6 separate regions of the Homo sapiens genome follow, and all the other regions are linked to region 4. The links are contacts of gene promoters, found by promoter capture Hi-C in human tissues and cell types (Jung and others, 2019). All regions are on one chromosome and are shown on one strand. The core of a region is centred on a gene start or on the middle of the fragment in contact, and the rest is flanking DNA. Distances in the headings are between cores, read along the strand shown. Region 1 overlaps LPP (LIM domain containing preferred translocation partner in lipoma). Region 2 overlaps LPP (LIM domain containing preferred translocation partner in lipoma). Region 3 overlaps LPP (LIM domain containing preferred translocation partner in lipoma). Region 4 holds the start of LPP (LIM domain containing preferred translocation partner in lipoma). Region 5 overlaps LPP (LIM domain containing preferred translocation partner in lipoma). Region 6 overlaps LPP (LIM domain containing preferred translocation partner in lipoma).

Region 1 (3,164 bases), core at 495-2,994, 370 kb after region 4:
GGCAGGAGAATCGTTTGAACCCGGGAGGCGGAGGTTTCAGTGAGCCAGGATCACGCCACTGCGCTCCAGCCTGGGGACAGAGGGAGACTCCATCTGAAAAAAAAAAAAAAAAAAAAAAGAGAGAATATAAGTCTGGTAGTTTCCTACAGACAGCGTGTAGACACGTTTAAATGCCAGATTATGATTTTAATCTGTCTTTTGTAGATAATGGGATTATTTGAAGGTTCTCAATCAGGGAAATCTAAAATTCATTCTGAAAAAGGAACATAGGAAATAAGACCAACTCTAGAATGATGCAGGAAATGAGCCCAGGTCAGAAAAATGTTCTCCAGCAAGCCACTCTTCATACTTTCTGACCATTGCTTGATGTTCAGCAATTTTTTTTGATTCCACCCAAGCAAATGCCCCAAATCTCATCTCATATCTGAAGACAGGAAGGCCACTGACTTTGCCACTGGACTCAGCAGTATCATGCCCAAATGCTTTTTTGTGCTCCCTTTCCTTTTTTTTTTTTGTAATGGGTTTTCACTCTGTCACCCAGGCTGGAGTGCAGTGGTGGGATCTCGGCTCACTGCAACCTCCGCCTCCTGGGTTCAAGCCATTCTCCTGCCTCAGCCTCCCAAATTTAGGGAGGATAGCAACAGTGTTTCTGGCTGCAGTAAATTTGGGGTAATGACTTTAGCTTACATCTACTTTATAAAAAATCCTCCATGACACTGCATGGATTTATGCAATTGAACTACCTTAATATTTGAAACTAAAATTTCTAAACATTTTAAAAGTGTTTGTCAGGGAGTAGTTTTAGAATAACAGATGAGAAAAGTTCAGACATATTCCTGTAGTGAATTGCAGATAAAATGTGAGCATAGAGTATCAGAGCTTTAGTGGGCCTTCCAGGTCATTTAGCCAAACTTACAGGTGTGTGCCACCATGCCCAGCTAATTTTTTGTATTTTTAGTAGAGATGGGGTTTCACTATGTTGGCAAGGATGGTCTCAATCTCCTGACCTCGTGACTGACCCACTTCGGCCTTCCAAAGTGCTGGGGTTACAGGCATGAGCCACCGTGCCCTGCCCCTCCCCGCCCCCCAGCTTTTTTTTTAAACGGAGCTTTCATTTAAATCTTTTTTTTCCTCCCCTAAATCCTTATAACCTAATAGACACTGAGGAGATCATGCTTTGAGGTCTATTGTTTAATACAACCTTTATTCTTGAAGGTTGTGTCTATACATGCCTCTCATAAACCATTGCATTTTAATAGGTTTATTCTGCAGCTACGTTTTGTTTGAGGAATCTTTCTGAGCACACAAATTCATCATCACTGATATTTGGACAGTACTGATTGTGAAGCACTTTCACATATATTCTCACTTGAGTGAGATATAGATATCTCAGTTCTGAGATGTGCGTGATGTGCTCCTTTCAGGGATGATGAAACTAAGACTCACCAAGAAGATTAATGGTTTCTCCTTGGCCATATGTTTGAGCACTGCGTGAGCACAACTGGACTTTGAATTTTGGCTTGTGCTTGATTTTAAGTTCTAAACACCAGATTGAGGGTGTCAGGTTTTGTCTTTGTTTTTGTAATGATTTTACCATCGATGAAAGCTGGCATCAGTCATCTGAGTGACACTGTCCCTTGAATGTTGCTTTCCCATAAAAAGAAAAACATTCAGAAGGTCAAAAAAAATTAATTGTAATAGCCATTAAGTAGAATAAGTTCATAATTATGGTAAAATACACTTTCGATGTGCCTGTTCCATTCAGAAATTAAAGGATGATCCATTCTAATTTTTTTCTATTACTATGATTTAACAAAGCAAGAGTTAATTGGGAGATATATCTCATCCTTTTGAATTATCTTCCCTCTGGTGGAACTGAATTAGATGTGTTAATATTTATTGGTTAACATAATTATAGGCTGTGAGAACAATAATCACACACTTAAAATATTAAAAGTATGTGCCAAGAGAAGATGATGTCTATAGTAGACGGTGTTGTGTTATAATTGAAAGGTACTTGAAAAGTCCTAGAAATGTAGACCGTTAATGCCCAACATTGATGTTTCTATTTTTGTTCAAAGCAAATTTCAAAACCTATAGAATCACCTGACTACTTAAAATAGGCTAGTAGGTCTGTGATTTCTCATTAGTCAAACATGTGTTGTAAGCTTTTTTGAATCCATGTCTCTATCATCTTTGGAAGGCTGCTTTGACTCATGGTCTAGGAAAAATGATATATATGTGGAATGTTTATATGGTAAGAGGTTCCAAGGAGCTCCATTCTCAAAACAAGTCTGAAAAATGTGAGCTCTTGAAAATAGGTTTTGCTAAAGCATTTTCTTCCTTTTATTCTAGGGAGTATTTTCCGCTCCCAAATTTTCTGACTTTAGTTATGTTCACTTACTAATCCCTATATTGATTTTGGAAATTTGGCTTAATTCCACATATTCATTGATTCATTGATTCATTCACCTAACATTTGATGAGATCCTCCTCTGGATCAGTCATTGGAGATTTAAAGGTTAGTATCAACAGGTCTTTCCTTTAGAGTGATATTTAATCTTACAGAAGAGATAAGCCCGTAAGTAACCCAAAGGGACACAGGAGAAGGGCTTCAATGTGCTACTTAAATTGTCACGTAAATCACCACGTGTCAAAATTATTGGGAGATAAAATACAGGAATACCAACATTGTACCTTATACCTTTCAGTGTCAGAGAGGACTGCGTAGAGCAGGCAGTATTTGAGCTAACTTGGCTTAAAGTGTTACGGGAAGGGCATGGGATTCAAGGTGCAAGAATAACAAGAGTGAGAAAGTCAAGGAACGTGGAAAGTGAATATTATTTGAAGAATAAGTTTGTCTAATGGGGTATGTAAAGTGTAAATGGGATTACTGCTGAAAAACTCAAACTTACTTAGCAGTACCTAAGTAGCCCTTTTGATGCCCAAGGGCTTTCATTGTTAGAAAGAGAAATTTACAGGGGGATAGCAACAGTGTTACTGGCTGCAGTGATTTTGGAGTAATGACTTTAGCTTACAGCTACTTTATAAAAAAATCCTCCATGACGCTGCATGGATTTATGCAATTAAATTACATTAGTGTTTGAAACCAAAATTTCTAAACATTTTAAATGTGTTTGTCAGGGAGTAGTTTTAGAAGAACA
Region 2 (3,052 bases), core at 275-2,774, 450 kb after region 4:
AGATTATTTTAACTCATCACCAGATTTCAGCTACTATTTATCCTCATTTATAAGGTTACTTTTTTTCTTTAATGTGGAAAATAAACAAAAACATAAAATGGAGAACAAAATTTTCTCTTAACTGCCTCACCTAGTGTAAAACTGTAACCTTTTAAAATACATTGAAACCATTTTTAATTTTCTGCTATGCTTCTTCCTTTTTTTGTATGTACATACACATGGACATTGGAATACCACAATATTTTAGAGTGTGTTTGCTTGGTTTTTAAAATAATGTATATATTTCTGATATATATTATGTTAAATATATATTTATTTTTATACATTTATATATAAGAAATGTATAATATATACTATGCCTATATAATATATATTTCTTCCTTTGAGTGAAAAAGTAATATGTGGTAGACACTTAGCAAAATAGGAAAAGTATATAGAATAGCCAAAAATAACCCCTTTAAAATAACCAATGTTATCAGTTGGGAATAGATCCTTCTAGCCATATATGTATGCATATGTATATATGAGATATAGATAGATGCATTACTTATCAACAGGTATAAAACAATATTTTCTAACTGAATTTTAAAACAAAGAAAAATTTTGATACATATTATTATTTTTATTATATAGTGGTAAAATATACATAATACAGAATTTCACATTCTAACCAATTTTAAGCGTATAATTCACTGGCACTAAGTACATTTACATTGTTGTGCAACCATCACCAGCAGAACTGTATCTATTCAAACTGAAATGACATATCCATTAAACAATAATGCACTAGCTACATTCTTCCTTCTCCCATCCCATGGCAATCACCATTCTGCTTTCTAGCTTTATAAATTTGACTCTTCTAGGGGCCTCCTATATGTAGAACCATATGGTATTTGTTTTTTGTTTTTTGTTTTTGTAACTGGCTTGTTTCTTCAAGCTTCAAGCTTAATCTCTTCAAGCTTCATCTATGTTGTAGCATGTATCAGAATTTTCTTATTACATTGTGTGTGTGTATATATATGTATAGATATATAGATAGATATAGATGTGTGTGTGTATATATATATATCACATTTTATTTATCCATTCATCCATCAGTGGACACTTGAATTGCTTCTTCCTTTGGCTATTGTGAATAATACTGCTATGAACATATTACCATGATTGTACAAATAGCTGCATTCCTGCTTTTAGTTATTTTAGGTATCTACCCAGAAGTTGAATTGCCAGATTATTGATATATTTTGAAATATTTTTATGGCATTGTTTTAATGACTGTGTAGTATTCTATTATATGACTATACTGTAATGTATATAAACAATCCTCATGTATTGATTATTTAAATTTTCCATTATCTTTTAGTTTTATAAAGTACACTATTAACACGGAGCTTCTTGAAACTAAACATTTATGCTCTCTGGTCATTTCCATAGGCTAAATTTTAAGAAATGAAACTATGGGTTTAAAAAGTATAAACTTTATTAGGGCTTTTGTTACATATCACCAAATTACACCACTGATTTCCCATAAAAATTTTATAGAAACAAACATTAACTTCGTCCCTAAATCTAAATTATATAATCAGTTTTCCTTCTAAGACAAGTGGAGTCACACCATTATGTCACTCATAGCCCCTAATTCCAAGTGGGATTTCCTGTTCGGCTTTAGCAACAGTATCTAAAAGTAGTTTTGAACTCTGGTTTTAACTGACAATCACCTGCCCCTTCCCTTTTGAATTTCCAGATTTCACTCTGTTGAGTGGGTTTATCTACAATAACTTGCATTTAAAAAGCCCTAAATGATTCTGTTGTGCAGTCAGATTTAAGAAATGCTTTTCTAAATGTGTGGTATTATGTTTATATATCGCACTCTTGGCCAGGTGTGGTGGCTCACGCCTGTAATCCCAACATTTTGGGAGGCCAAGGCAGATGGATCACTTGAGGTCAGGAGTTCCAGACCAGCCTGGACAACACAGTGAAAACCCCATCTTTACTAAAAACACAAAATGAGCTGGCGTGGTGGTGGGTGCCTATAATCCCAGCTATTTGAGAGGCTTTGACACAAGAATTCCTTGAACACGCGAGGCAGAGGTTGCAGTGAGCTGAGATAGTGCCACTGCACTCCAGCCTGGGTGACAGAGCAAGACTCTATCTCAAATATATATATATATATATATACACACACATATACATATACACACACACACATATATATAGCATTCTTAATCTCATATATATATAATATATATATAATATATATATATTATATATATATATGACATTCTTAATCTGTTAGGTTGTTTTCCAACTCATGGGGTCATCTATCAAGTGGATAGTGTAAGTGGCCTGGTTGGATGAGGAATGGAGATATGGGTACTTACCCTGAATTATGGAAGATAATTAGTGAGATGACTCAAGAAAGCAAATTTAGTTATTCTTCTAGTCATGGTTAGGATAAAATGATGATGTAATTTTTGCATAGAGCCAAAAGAAGCAGCAAATTAGGGATTTCATTATAACTGAAATAGGTTAGCTGTGTTTCCATTTTTGCTCATTGTACAAACTCAGAAACCAATTATATTTATTTATCCAGCCATTATTTATTAAGTGCCTACCTGATATGAATCCCTAATAATGAGACCAAGCTCTTCTTGGGCAATAAAACTCTGAATATTGCACATTTACTCTTGGAATCACTGGATTTTTGAGAGTCAGAGTATCTTCTTTTATAGGTACCTCGACCCCAGTGAAGCTCTTTTTTTTTCTCCTGAGTGATATAGAAATATTTTTTTATTTGAAGAGAAAGATTATTTATTAAAAAAAAAAAAAGGAGAAGAGTAACTTAGCATTTCCCCTCCTTTGTTGTTCAGATGAAGAGTCAGTCTAGAGAAGTCACGTGACTTTCCCAATGTCACTAAATTCTAAACAGTGGTAAAGCTGGCACTTTTTTTCTCGGTCTCCCAAGTTCCAGTGCACAACTCTTCAATTGCATGCTTCCTAGTGATACTTACATTTGCCAGTATCCATAACTTCAACTGGGAATTGTAAAGTG
Region 3 (3,284 bases), core at 588-3,087, 300 kb after region 4:
AAAGGACTTGGGAAAATTTCCTCCACTCCTGACTTCCAGACCTTTAGAACTTAATGCTTTCCGTTCAGTACTTCTGCCCCCTAACCTTAAAGTCTTGAGAGAAGAATGACTGGTGTTGACAGGATGCTTGTTTACTGGCTTCTGCCTAATTTTTGAGGCATGAAGTGGCCATCTCATATAAAGCAAGTAGTTCACATCCTGGGACTGAGACTACAACCTGGTTTCTCCTTGTCTTGTTTCGATGGAGTTATTCTGTATCCTGTGAAGAATCTCTGTTTTGTCATATTGTATTCCCTCTTTAAATCTTTTATATCTCTTTCTCGTACTATTTTGCCCCTGATGCTGTTTCTTTCTTTATTTTAAGCTTTAGATTCACCTCTTAAGTTGTCAGCCCACATGGCCATACATGACCATGGTTCTTACTGGTGTGAAGAAAGCAGATTGTAGCTGGTTGTTTGAGATGCCTTCTTAGGTGGACCAACCTCTCTCGGGTTCTTTGGTTTTATCTCTTGCTCTTCCTCTTGAATGTTTATGATACTTCCTGGTCACGTCATTTCTCTTTGACTCTTTCTTTCTTCCTTCCTTAGGTTCCGGATTCATACAGGTATGAATCTACTTCCCCATCTTTGCCAACCCTGGCATCGTGCCCCCTTGATTCCTTGGCTTTTCACAGGCTAGATGCTTAATGGACTCTGGAAGCCTTTATCTCTAGGACGCCTTTATCTGTAGGACTGGGCTTTTTTGTTTGTTTGAGACAGGGTCTCACTCCGATCACCCAGGCTGGAGTGTAGACCTGGGGTTTCTAAACACTCTTCACCTTGTGCTCAGCTCCTTGTATGATACCGACCGGATCCTATCCATGGACAATAACAATCTTGAATGTGTTCACAATGCCTGGGGGAATAAGTCCCAATCCGGCCAGGAAATGCTGATCTCCTTCCGACGGGATCTGCTTGTCTCACCTCAGCGCCAGTTGCTTCCCTTTACAATCTCTTTGCTGGCCAGGTTAGAACATGTGCTAATTCTCTGAAAACACACCATGCTTTCCTTCCTCTGTGTCTTTGCTTGAATGGTTCTCTCAGTCCAGAATACATTTTAAATATTTCTACTTCCACAAATCTATTCTATAGTATTTATCAAAATAGTACCTTCCCTATTAAGTCTCCCCTGATTCTTTAGCTGAAAGTTATTTTGATTTCCTCTGAGTTCCTGTTAATTTTGTGGGTACTTCTGTTAGGCTTCTTAGCATTCTACAGATAAGGAGATGGGACTTCGTTTAAACAGCTCTGGGCCACAAATATAGCATGTAGAACTGTGGAGATTCTAACTCACATTTTAACCTAAAATGCCATACTCTTTTTATCCTATTACATTCTTCTCATTCCATATATGTCTATCTTATGTAGTATGATTGAAGGCAGGGTGCTTGAATAAGGTGTAATGTTTTTGAATACTTAGCATATCCTAGGCACTGTGTGACATATTTTGCATTTATTTAATTTGGCTGTCATAAAATTTCTGCAAGGCAGGTACAGTTACTATTCCCACTTTACATATGAGGAAGTGAGGTATGGAAAGATTATGTAACTTGTCCAAGGTTAGGCAGCTAGCAGGTGACAGGCAGGACACCAGCTTAGGCAGTGTGGCATCACAGCCTATGCTTGTAACTGCCGTGCAATGCTGTAGGTAAGCAAGAGCTAACAATATAAGCCTGAAACTACTGGCTTTCTCAGTTGATGGTATTTGAGAAGTGTGGTCTATGATATTCCTCAGTAACTTTCATCCATGGAAAACCAACATATCTCATTTCTATAGGTTTTAGGATTTAAATATTTTTAAGGATTTTTCTGTTGTAGACTTTAAATTTACGATTTGAGATAAACTGAATGCTAAATCTTTCCTGCTTGGGAAGAATTCAGATGTAAAATTGTAATTTGTATTATTGGAAAACAACTCCAGTTTTATGCATTCTATGCAAGGATGAGCTATGTATTAGTTCATTTTCACGCTGCTGATAAAGACATACCCGAGACTGGGAAGAAGAAGAGGGTTAATTGGACTTACAATTCCACATGGCTGGGGGAGGCTTCAGAATCATGGTGGGAGGTGAAAGGCACATCTTACATGGCGGAAGCAAGAGAAAATGAGGAGGAAGCAAAAGCGGGAACCCCTGATAAACCCATCAGATCTCATGAAACTTATTCACTACCATGAGAACAGTATGGGGGGACCATCTCCATGATTCACATGATCTCCCACGGCATCCCTCCCACAACACGTGGGAATTATTGGAGTATAATTCAAGATGTGATTTGGGTGGGGACACAAAGCCATGACTAGAATAAACCACATCAAGTTACCTGCTTATCTAAAGTTTTAGAAGGTGTTCACAATGTTATTCGAAAGCCAACTTAGTGTAGTGAGCATTTGGAGAAGCATCCTTTATACAAGTGAGATGACATACATTGTTAATATGTGCTTTTATGTTTGTCTTTGCAAGATCTGAGCTAGAATAGAATCATAGCTCTAGGGCCAATTAGAGTGGGAGATAGTTTAATAGATAACACAGGTGCTATTTTGTCAAGTTGCATGGTTTCTGGACAGTTTACAGAGAAAAAATTTTTAGCTGAGAGCCTGATGAAGTCTTAAGGCTATTATTAATAGTAATATTTGGGGACTAGCAAAGTGCTCACATAAAAAGCACCAACAAGGATTAAAAAAAGAGAAGGTACTGACCAGATTCACTGCCTTCTATTCCCAAAAAGATTATTAAAAGGTTCATGTAAATAGAATATGCGCACACCCAGGAGAAAGTGATTTATTTTTAAGCTGAAGCCGAGGTTTTACACATCCCTGATAATAGGGTTTAATTAATGTTTGGAGTGAATAAAACACACTCAGAAGAAGTGTAGTCATATCCTTAATTTCCTTGATTGGCAAAGTAATTGATATCATGTGTGACATTTGAGTCAGTGCTATTTTATCAGTCACTTGCTCTCTGCGAGACAGAGACTGTGATTGAAAACAGTAGGTATGGGTACTTGATTTTAAAATGAACTCTATCATAATATACTGATTACAGAATCAGAAGGGCAATGTTGGTGAATATTTTTGGGCAAAAAATGACTGTAACCTATTCTAGATATGGTAAAACCAGCTCTCAGTACTTACCCTATAAAGAGAATATTGGTTTTTTTCAGAATTTTGCAGAGGGTCTTTTTACTTAGGGAACAAAGAGAACTGTAATTGTCAAATGTGGTTGTAAAACGGTAAATCTATTTTTG
Region 4 (3,271 bases), core at 169-2,668:
TGCAAGGAAAGGAAGTCTCAGGGTATGGAATGCTTTCCTGGCCATGGCTGCTGCGCGTCATAATCCCCTAACACAGTTAAGTGGTGGTTCTCATCGTCGTTCACCCTTACAGATGTCAGAGGGGAAAGAAAAATCCAACTCAAAACTTCCAATGACAGGCTTGTCTGTATTCAAACCAGTTCATCTCGTTCGCAGACTTTTTTGAAGCTATAAGCACAGAGCAAGCTTTCTGGGCGGGGCTCAGAAGTAAACGTTAAACTCCAGGGATTCATTTATTTGAGCACAGGACAGAGGAAGTTGCCCTGAAGCAACTGATTGTCATTGATATTCAGGGCTCGCTGTCAACCAGGACCTTCCAGGAACTGGCTCTGGGCCAAGAGCAGTAGAAATCACTGGGTGGTCCGCACAGCTCGCGGGCATCTAACCTGCTTCAAGGCTCAGGGCTAAAAGGGAGCCAGGGCCCTTCCTGGAGGCGGGAACCCAAGTGGGAGGCAGAGCGCCTGGGCCCGCTCCTCGATCTGCTGAGTGACGACCCTGTACAAGTCATTTCTCTTCCGAGAGCTTCAGTTTCCTCACGTGCCAAGCGGACGGGTTGGAAGTTGGTCTTTGCCAGCTCTGACACCTTGTAAGTTTTGAGTCTTGCTGGGAATCCAGGGCGGGGCTCACGAGGAAAATCTTGGAAGGGGATTTCATGGCTGGATCTCTTCCACTCAAGCTCAGTGCCCTAATTTGACGCCTTAATAGTAGACGCAGGCTTTTCCATTTTCCAGGAGCCCCCTGACGCGGCCGCTTCCTCCTACGTCTCCTTCCTCTTCCTCTAGCAGGGGCAAAGTCTCCACATCTCCCTCTTTCTCTTCCTCCTTTGCAAGCTCCCTGCATTCCCGCGTCTCCTCCTCTTCCTCCCAGGAAATGCAATGCCCTCAGTGCGCCCACCTTTTGGCAAAGCCACTGCCGGCTGCGGGTTTCCCCTCCCCCGCCAGGCGAGCTCTGCGCGGCGGCTTCGCGGGCACACGCCTTCCCATACCTTACATGGACAAATGCGTGCAGGCAAAGTCAGGAATTCAGGCCCCTGACGTCAGCCTCCAGCGCTCAGGGCACCGCACGGGAGACCAAGGGGAGGGGGTGGGGACGGTGGGGAGGAAGGAGGGGGAAAGGCACCAACCAGCAGCCGCTCCAGCCCTGCCGAAGTTTCACTTTTTGTCTGTGGGTTCGTTCCCGGGTCCCGCGCGAGCTTTCCCGGGATAAGTAGCTTTAGCGATCGGGAGACAGCCGGGCGCTGCAAGGTAAGGGCTGGCTGCACGGCCCGGGGCGCGGGGCGTGGGGCGCTGGGCGCGGGCGGCGCGCTCGAGGAGGCCAGTGTGGGGCGCGGGGCCGGGCCTGTCCGGGGCTGGGGACAATGGGAGGGGGAGTGCCCGGGCACCTCCTCCTCTGCCTCTGCCTCCGCCTCCAGCCGCCGCCGCCGCCGCCGCCGCCGCCACCACCACCGCCGCTGCCCCGGCTGCCTCCTCCCTGAGGTATTGTTGCAAATCCTTCCTTCCCCTCACCCTCCACCCGCGGGCGCCTCGGGAACCCCCAGCCCTCCCCCGGCGCGAGCGCCTCCGGGGTGGCAAGAGCGCAGGGCGCGCGCCCTGCTCTGGCCTGGCCCGCTGTGCGGAAGTGCCGGCCGCGGCCCAATCACGGGGTGCACGCCATGGGGGAGGGGGACCCAGAGTTTTTCCAAAAGCGTCGACCCCAGGCTAGGCGGGGTTGGAGCCTTGCGCGCCCCCTGCCCGGACTTTTCTGGGCGCCCAGGGGGCGGGGCCACGCCCATCCGCTTAGAGCTTTCGCGGAATCACAGTTGTCACAGCGGAAAGGGCCTAGACCCAGTCCTCCAAGTCCTCCCATTTTACAGTTGGGGCAGCTGAGGCCCAGAGAGAAGGAGGGTCGCCCGGAAGTTATTTACTAGAGGCCAGACCATAATTCAAATAGTTGGCTCCGGACTTAAGTTCCCTTTCTCTAAGCATTTCTCTAGCACCCTGTGTGTGGCAGACCCTGTGCTGGGTGTATTGGACGTTGCCCTCAAGGAACTCAGTTGAACCTGGGAGTCAAACCTGGCCTAGGGTAGAAAATGCTAAGTGCTGGAGCAAAGGCGTGGACAAAGTTAAAGGAAGTTCCAGGGAGGGGGTTTGATTTTCTGGTCCCTGGGACGGCCTTTTGGAGAGTCCTGCACTGAATGGGGTTTTTGGAGGTTGAGGAGTTTCCTGAAGCCAGCTAGCGGCTTGGAGGAAGACATCTCTTCGAGGGAACCGTGGGCCAGAGAAGACTAAGTAGTGTGGGAAATGGAGATGAAAGTATAAATATTCTTTAGTTGGAGGCAAGGGGTTGGGGATGGGGGAGGTTGTGATATGAGATGAGCTAATCAGTGGAATTGTGCCTGGGTGCTTGGACAGGGCAGAGTCTTTGGAACCTCGGAGTCGTAGGAGAACTGAAAAATCTCTCTGGCTTCCCTTCCCTTAGAAGGGATCCACTGCTTTCCCTCCCCCAACACAAAACAACTAGCGAGAACTCAGGGTCTTCTCTGGGGCTTTTGCTAGTACCAAACTCACTTAACTGTGTTTCCAGTCCCCTTTCTCTTTCCATTCCTTCCCCTTTTACTAAATCTCTTGCCTTTCCTGTAAAATTCACTCTCACTAAGGTGTTGATGACTTAATGGCTTACCTTTCCCTGCACATGTGCATTTTAAGAAAGCCTAAAGTGAAGAAGGGGAAAGTGTGGCTAGGCACCTTTACAAAGCATCTAGCTCCCTCTCCCATCCTCCCCCTTCCTCAACTCTTATAGATAGAAGAATAGGTAAAGGTCCACGAAGGTGGGTGCTAGACCTAGAGCCTATGGTCAATAATGGTGGACAGTGGGGGGTTAGGACATCCAATATGGTTTTCTCCACTTCGTCACCAGTTTTTCTGCTTGCACAGTTCCTGCCAGCACCAGGGGGCAGTTAAAGGAAAAAGTGTGTGGGCCAGGCACGGTGGCTCACGCCTGTAATCCCAGCACTTTGGGAGGCCAAGGCGGGCGGATTGCCTGAGCTCAGGAGTTAGAAACCAGCCTGGGCAACATGGCAAAACCCTGTCTCTACTAAAAATACAAAAAATTAGCTGGGTGTGGTGGCGGGGAACTGTAGTCCCAGCTACTCGGGAGGCTGAGGCAGGAGAATCGCTTGAACCCGGGAGGCAGAGGTTGCAGTGAGTTGAGATCACACCACTGCACTCTAGCCTGGGCGACAGAGGGAGACTGC
Region 5 (3,233 bases), core at 78-2,577, 330 kb after region 4:
AAATATTTTTTCATGCAGTCTGTGGCCAAATGAAAGTTTCTCAATCCTGGCTGCAGGTTCGAATCCCTTAGGTTTTATAGGTGTCCTGGTGCCTGACCCCCTCACTCCCTGTCTTCTATCCCCAAGATTCTGATTGAATTGCTGTGAGATGGAATTTGGACATCAGCATTTTCGAATGTGTTTCTTTGGTGATTCTGGTATTTAACCAATGTTTAAAACTACTGAATGGAATGCATACAGATTTATGGGATTTATAATTGTCATAAGGATATGTACAAATTATTTCCACAGATTTGTGCACCCAGAGAATAAGAGGAGTAGAAATTTTCTTTATGTTGTAAGTTATTGAACATTTCTTATCCTGTGGGTCTAAAGTAGTAACAACATGCAGTGGTTATTAAAGTGTGCTGTCAGACCCAAAGGCATCGATCACACAGGGATTTATTAGAAATGAAGATGGTTGGAGTTCTCCCCAGACCTACTGAATCAGAATCTCTGGATCCAGGACCCAAAAATCTGTATTTTAAAAAGACATTCCAGAGATATTGATGAACTCTAAAGTTTGAGAACCATCAGCTTTAAGGGTTGTTGTATGATTCGGTGGCAGTGTATGAAAATCTTAGCAAACTGCCTGGCATGGTGCGAGTCTAGTAAGCGGAGTACTCGAGAGATAGTGCTTTTGATTGCTTAGCAGTCTGAATTTGGCTTGGGGCTAGACCTGACAGTTCTTGGCTTAGCTACACTTTGAATTCTAAGACTGTTATTTATAAGGCAAATAGAGGCAAACTGAACCATTTCAAAGGTGTATCAGAACAACAAAACCTACTCACAGTCATTCTAATGTGCTCACTCTTCCATTCTTATACTTCTATTTCTCAGGGCCTAAACTGTGATGTTTTGATAATATCCAAAAGCAACTCACTTAATGATGGAGACTGCTGCCCTAACCCACAAAGTGTTGAGCAACTAAAATGCAAGGAAAGGCTACTCCTCCATAAATAGAAAAGATCTCTTCTCCAACACATCAAAAACATTATTTTTAATAGGAAAATAACAAATAAAGAACAGGTTAAAAGGTAGAAGTTTCTGTTTCCCCAATACAGTTTTTTGCAGACTATTTAAAAAGGTTTCATTCCAGGAACCATAAAGCTCTTGGATATATGTGTATAACTTAGATCACAGAGATCAGGTTCACTCCCTCAATAACTCTGACAGCAGTGTGCTTCTCTTGTTGGTAAGAGATGCTAGGTTTTTCTCGGTATCCCAAAGTCTCATTACTTCTTGCCTGGATTATGTATAGATTTCTAAATTGGGTGTTTCTTATTCATTTCTCCTAATCTGTCCTGCATGGACTTTTACATTAGTCTTTAGTAAATCGTATTGTAACCAAGTGTTTCTTTCTCAGAAATCCTTGGTGGATCTCTGCTGCATGCATGATAAAATTCAAACCCTTTTTTTGATGTGCAACATGTAAAAACCTTAATTTTATCGCATATCTAATCTTTATAACTCACTGGCATTATTTTACATTCCTGTGTCCCATGTTTTTCCTATGTCATGACTTGCTTTTTATTCTCTATGCTCTGAACTTTCTGATCGCCATGCCTACATTCTCCTGTCTCTCTACCAAGGATGGACGTACCTTCTACATCATGTTTCAGGAAAATTATATGATCCACTGAGACTTCCATGATCCTCCACTTTATCTTAATTTCCAGAGGTTATTCATGCATCTTTATAAATTACACCTTGTGTTATCTTTAGTTTTGTACAATTTTTCTTCCTCCTCTATTTGATTGAAAATGTATTGAGGGCAAGCACCAAGGTGTATAAAATTCAGTAACTCTATCTCCCACCCAAGCTCATTCTTCGCTTTGCTTAATATATTGACCCCTCTAGACTAGCTTTTATACCATTTCTAAATATCAAATCCGATACTCTTTCTTCTGAAAGTTAAGACTACTAATTAAGGCTACTAATTAAACTAAGATGGGGAATAATTGCTATACAACACAAAATTATGTGTCAAAGCCAATTATAAAAAAGTAAAATGCCAGCAAATATATCACGAGTACTATAACGTTGCATCCTTATTAACTTCATGTTGTTTACTTCTTTTCTGTAGGTGATTTTCTTCCACCCCCACCTCCACCTCTAGATGATTCCAGTGCCCTTCCATCTATCTCTGGAAACTTTCCTCCTCCACCACCTCTTGATGAAGAGGCTTTCAAAGTACAGGTAAGAGCTGAAGTTAAAGTCATGTTAGGTAAGAGCTGAAGTTAAAGTCATGTTTATAAGCCATCCTAGGGAGCTCATGAATTTCATGAGTGTTTCTGTGCTGGATAAACATTTATCCAGAGCCTATTGAGAGCTTTACAACTTATGAAGATCTAAGGTACTTTAATGCAACATACCCAACTCAAGCTTCCCAGAGTTCTGCTGGCTTACCCTCTGAAGCCCTCAAAATACTTTTGCCTACTAATTTTGTTTCAGATCCCAAAGCCATTTTTTTTTTAGGAATACTATTTGAGAAGGCAACATTTCCTTGTTATTTTGGAGGACATACAGCCATGTCTTTTTATTGCTATGTTCTCTATCTTCAAACATTGCATTCAAGTGAGTAAGGCTGACATTTTAAGGCTGTAGTTGGTTAATGTGGATCCTTTTGGTCAGCAACATTTTTCTAGCAAAAGCAACATCAAATATCCTTAGGATTTTCTCTTCTGGGTAAGTTCAAGGGTGCACATCATACTTATCAATTATATAGAACTCTTGGGTTCCAGCGAGTGGTAATTGCAAAGTAACTCGGGGCTGGGATCAGATGTGACATTAGAAGTGGTTCTCAGACTGTGATCATCGGTAACTGCCGAAAGCTGCCACCATTTAAGCTGAAGAAGTGCTTTATGTCAAGAAGAAAATCTAATAAAGTGATAGAATTATTGTTATAGTTTTAGGTGTGACTATGTTCGCATAGATACATTGAAGAAAAAAATGAGTCTTCTTTGTCTTTCAGAGAAACATTGGAAATGTTTGTAGATAAAATGGAATGGGCCGGGCGCGGTGGCTCACGCCTGTAATCCCAGCACTTCGGGAGGCCGAGGCGGGCGGATCACGAGGTCAGGAGATCGAGACCATCCCGGCTAAAACGGTGAAACCCCGTCTCTACTAAAAATACAAAAAATTAGCCGGGCGTAGTGGCGGGCGCCTGTAGTCCCAGCTACTTGGGAGGCTGA
Region 6 (2,996 bases), core at 412-2,911, 280 kb after region 4:
TCCTTTGAGTTCTGTTTTTTGACCTCATTGAACTCACAAGGGTTTACTTTTTACCACTAAATATTCCTATTATTTTATAGCTGTTTTTTCTTCCAATTTAACATGACTTTTTAATAATGATCCATTGCCCACATTTAGTGATAAGGTGAGGTTTGATTAAATAGTATTTGTACAGTACTACCTCCTACTTGGAGACACACGTTTATATAAACACAAGGTGTTATATAATTTGTTTCTCTGTTGGGGGGAGGGGGAAAGTAAATAAGGAAATATAAATTAATACCTGTTTTCTTTTCAGGATAAATAATATCTGAATATGTTTCTTTTTCTTTCTTTTTTCTTAATGCAGGCTTTATTTAGTTTGATTTTACCTTTAGAAATTTATAAACCATGGAAATACCCCACATTTTTGGGGATATTGGAAATAATCTCTGTGATGTCACTTTCTGAATCAGACTAAGGTTTGTTTATTACATCAGTTACAGGAAATAAGTGCATAAACCTGAATTAATCTGAGGATGTTGTGTTTGTAATGTTGCTTCCATTTTGTCCCTTTCCTTGAAGCTTGAGGCACTTGCACATCTCACTCAGTCTTCCTTTTCTCTACAGCTTTCCTGCTGTCCTAAAGAGACAAAAGGCATATGGCTTTCTCCAGCTGCATTTCCTGACCTGTTTCCTTGCCATAGATCGCTTCTAAAGCAACATTCCCACCATTTGAACTTCCATTCTTCCTCTGTCCCAAACCTAATATTAACAATAACAGGAGCCAATGCAATTTTTCATTATAATATGGTGTTTTACATTCATAGCACACACATTACTTTATTTGATCCTTGGAACTCGTGGATATGTAAATGGCAAGAGTTACTCTTCCATTGTGTAGATTACTAAAATGAAATATCTAGAGGTAATGTCACCTAGTACCACTGACTATAGTGTTGTGATACCAATACCAGAATAACAGGGCTCCTGACTTCTGACCCAAGGGAGATAAGGTGGATCATCTTAAGGTTATGGCTGATATATAATTGACGTTATCAGTTTTAGTAAATTTTATTTTACACGAAGAAACTGAGGCTAAAAGAAACGGAGCCACTAGTGCTTAGGGTGTCAACATCAGAATCAGATCTTTGATTCCCAGATTTAACATTTCCTAGATTCTGTGTTCTAATCATCTCAATGGACAGTGCAGATATTACTTGAGAAACATGTTTGCATTTCGTGAACAACTCCTGTTTATTTTCAACATTTTCTATGTATAAATAATGTTTGTGTAAGCATATATTTACTTAGGACCCGATATCTGTTCAGTACTGTTAATTGCCTTGGGAGAAAACAAAAGCAAAAATGTAAGGCCTGGGATTTCTATGCAAAAGGCCAAAAAGGGCTTTTGGTGAGATTTTAAAAATAGAAAACCAATTAGAAAATAATTAGGTGTATAGTGGTAGGCCCAGACTTGAATTTCAGTATGAATTTTGAAAAAGAATATATATTTTAAGGCCTACAAGGGCAAAAGTAGATGGGCTTTAAAGTTTGTGTAGGTAAGATTGTCTGTGGGTGAAGATGGGTAGTGGGATGGTGAGCAGGCAGAGTGGGGTTGGGGTGTGGGGTGGCACGGCCAGCTTTAATGGAGACAGGCGACTTCGATGGGGGGTAGGACATGAGGTGCACAGAGCAACAGTTTTCAGAGGTGCAGTAGGGATGATCCAGGGGATCAGAGAGGAAAAGAGTAAAGACTCTGCCAACCTTTCAGCCTGGAGCCTAGAGCCACAGTGTGAGTTAAAGATGTAAATTCCTTGGAATTAAGAACCATACCTTATTTAGCCATTTATACAGCTGCTTACCATGGTAATAATTAGAAATTAAGATGATGATCTTTTATGTGAGCAACTTTCCTAAATAACACTTGATGCTGCTGATAAATGAGACTTAGGTACAGTGCTTTTTCTGTAGGATTCAGGCCTAAATGGATCTAGGAGGATACTAGAGCTTCCGTTCCAAAGTACGTGCATTTGAATGATATGCTAAGTAATGCCTTGTGTATCCTTCAACAGGAAAAGTTCCTGCTATTAGGATAATTTGATATGCACTTGATGTTTGCTAATATGTTTCAATCACATAAATCCTTCTTGGATATTTTTGTTCTTTGTGGACTTCAGGTAAGTTTAAAGATATTCCACACACTTAAATATGTACACAAATGACTTTATAACAAGAAAGCAAATTTGTTTAAAAAACAAACCTACAATTCTGTCTCTCTAACACATCAACTCCATTTTCTCTGTACTCTTTTAGTCTTTGCCAATATATGTTTATAGTTTTCATAATATGTAACTAAAGATAGACATAATTTTGCATTTTTTTCACTTAATACTACAGAATAAGAATTCCCCACCATCATATTTAGCAATGGCATTATAGTTCTTGAAGTAAGCATCCCAGAATTTATTGAACTATTGCCATATTACTGGTCGTTTGTGTTATTTCACTGCTTTAAGTGTTTTTATGTTAGAGAACATAATGAAGGTCTTCATGGGTATAGCTTTTTGAGAAGCTAGACATGTTGAAGAAATTGGGAGCATGCTATTACTAGCTTCTATGAATTGGTATTTACTATGTATCCCTTTAATTAAATTCCATTCTGCAGTAAGTGTGATAGCTTTGCCGAAGCACTTGGGGGCCAAAAGGACATTTGTAACTGGTTAAGTTGGAAGATATTTATTTGTATAAGGTGGGTAGGGACAGGATGGACAGGCTATTTTTCTTGGCCACACTCACTGAATTTAAATAGGCAATGGAGATAAATCAGTTGTGGCCCAACTAGACTGCCTGGATATAATATCCTTTTGGACTGGATCATGTCGTTTCATTGCAGTCAGGATGGCTAAGCATGGTGATGGATCATAACTGACCAAACAGACAGGTTGGTTAGAATGTATGACCAGTCATAGCTGTGTAACTGAGGAACTGATTATATTCCTGTGACTAATGAAAAA

What was found. Contacts are between HindIII fragments. The study calls those that stand out against the background at their distance.
Region 1: a fragment that was not itself captured here is called in contact with the fragment with the promoter of LPP in region 4 in 1 of the 25 tissues and cell types used here (dorsolateral prefrontal cortex).
Region 2: a fragment that was not itself captured here is called in contact with the fragment with the promoter of LPP in region 4 in 2 of the 25 tissues and cell types used here (dorsolateral prefrontal cortex and liver).
Region 3: a fragment that was not itself captured here is called in contact with the fragment with the promoter of LPP in region 4 in 2 of the 25 tissues and cell types used here (small bowel and spleen).
Region 5: a contact is called between a fragment that was not itself captured here and the fragment with the promoter of LPP in region 4, in 2 of the 25 tissues and cell types used here (H1 embryonic stem cells and liver).
Region 6: a fragment that was not itself captured here is called in contact with the fragment with the promoter of LPP in region 4 in 1 of the 25 tissues and cell types used here (bladder).

The regions. Positions count from the first base shown.
Region 1 is chr3:188,527,253-188,530,416 of GRCh38, forward strand. All of the region lies in intron 6 of LPP (LIM domain containing preferred translocation partner in lipoma), which reads left to right. Among named protein-coding and RNA genes, the nearest start is that of LPP-AS1, 40 kb to the right of the region's middle. The HindIII fragment of the contact is 4,035 bases long and covers 1-3,164 here.
Region 2 is chr3:188,599,913-188,602,964 of GRCh38, forward strand. All of the region lies in intron 6 of LPP (LIM domain containing preferred translocation partner in lipoma), which reads left to right. Among named protein-coding and RNA genes, the nearest start is that of LPP-AS1, 33 kb to the left of the region's middle. The HindIII fragment of the contact is 4,829 bases long and covers 1-3,052 here.
Region 3 is chr3:188,452,570-188,455,853 of GRCh38, forward strand. All of the region lies in intron 4 of LPP (LIM domain containing preferred translocation partner in lipoma), which reads left to right. Among named protein-coding and RNA genes, the nearest start is that of LPP-AS1, 110 kb to the right of the region's middle. The HindIII fragment of the contact is 9,022 bases long and covers 1-3,284 here.
Region 4 is chr3:188,152,739-188,156,009 of GRCh38, forward strand. It overlaps LPP (LIM domain containing preferred translocation partner in lipoma), which reads left to right and starts at 1,419. Exons shown (of 12, transcript NM_001375462.1): 1 at 1,419-1,514. LPP-AS2 (LPP antisense RNA 2) reads right to left here and starts at 1,350. Exons shown (of 1, transcript NR_036497.1): 1 at 1-1,350. RefSeq lists enhancers at 1-854, 2,654-3,271 and a silencer at 1,287-1,626. The HindIII fragment of the contact is 14,765 bases long and covers 1-3,271 here.
Region 5 is chr3:188,482,467-188,485,699 of GRCh38, forward strand. LPP (LIM domain containing preferred translocation partner in lipoma) reads left to right here. Exons shown (of 12, transcript NM_001375462.1): 5 at 2,126-2,238. Among named protein-coding and RNA genes, the nearest start is that of LPP-AS1, 85 kb to the right of the region's middle. The HindIII fragment of the contact is 5,601 bases long and covers 1-3,233 here.
Region 6 is chr3:188,435,270-188,438,265 of GRCh38, forward strand. All of the region lies in intron 4 of LPP (LIM domain containing preferred translocation partner in lipoma), which reads left to right. Among named protein-coding and RNA genes, the nearest start is that of LPP-AS1, 130 kb to the right of the region's middle. The HindIII fragment of the contact is 8,829 bases long and covers 1-2,996 here.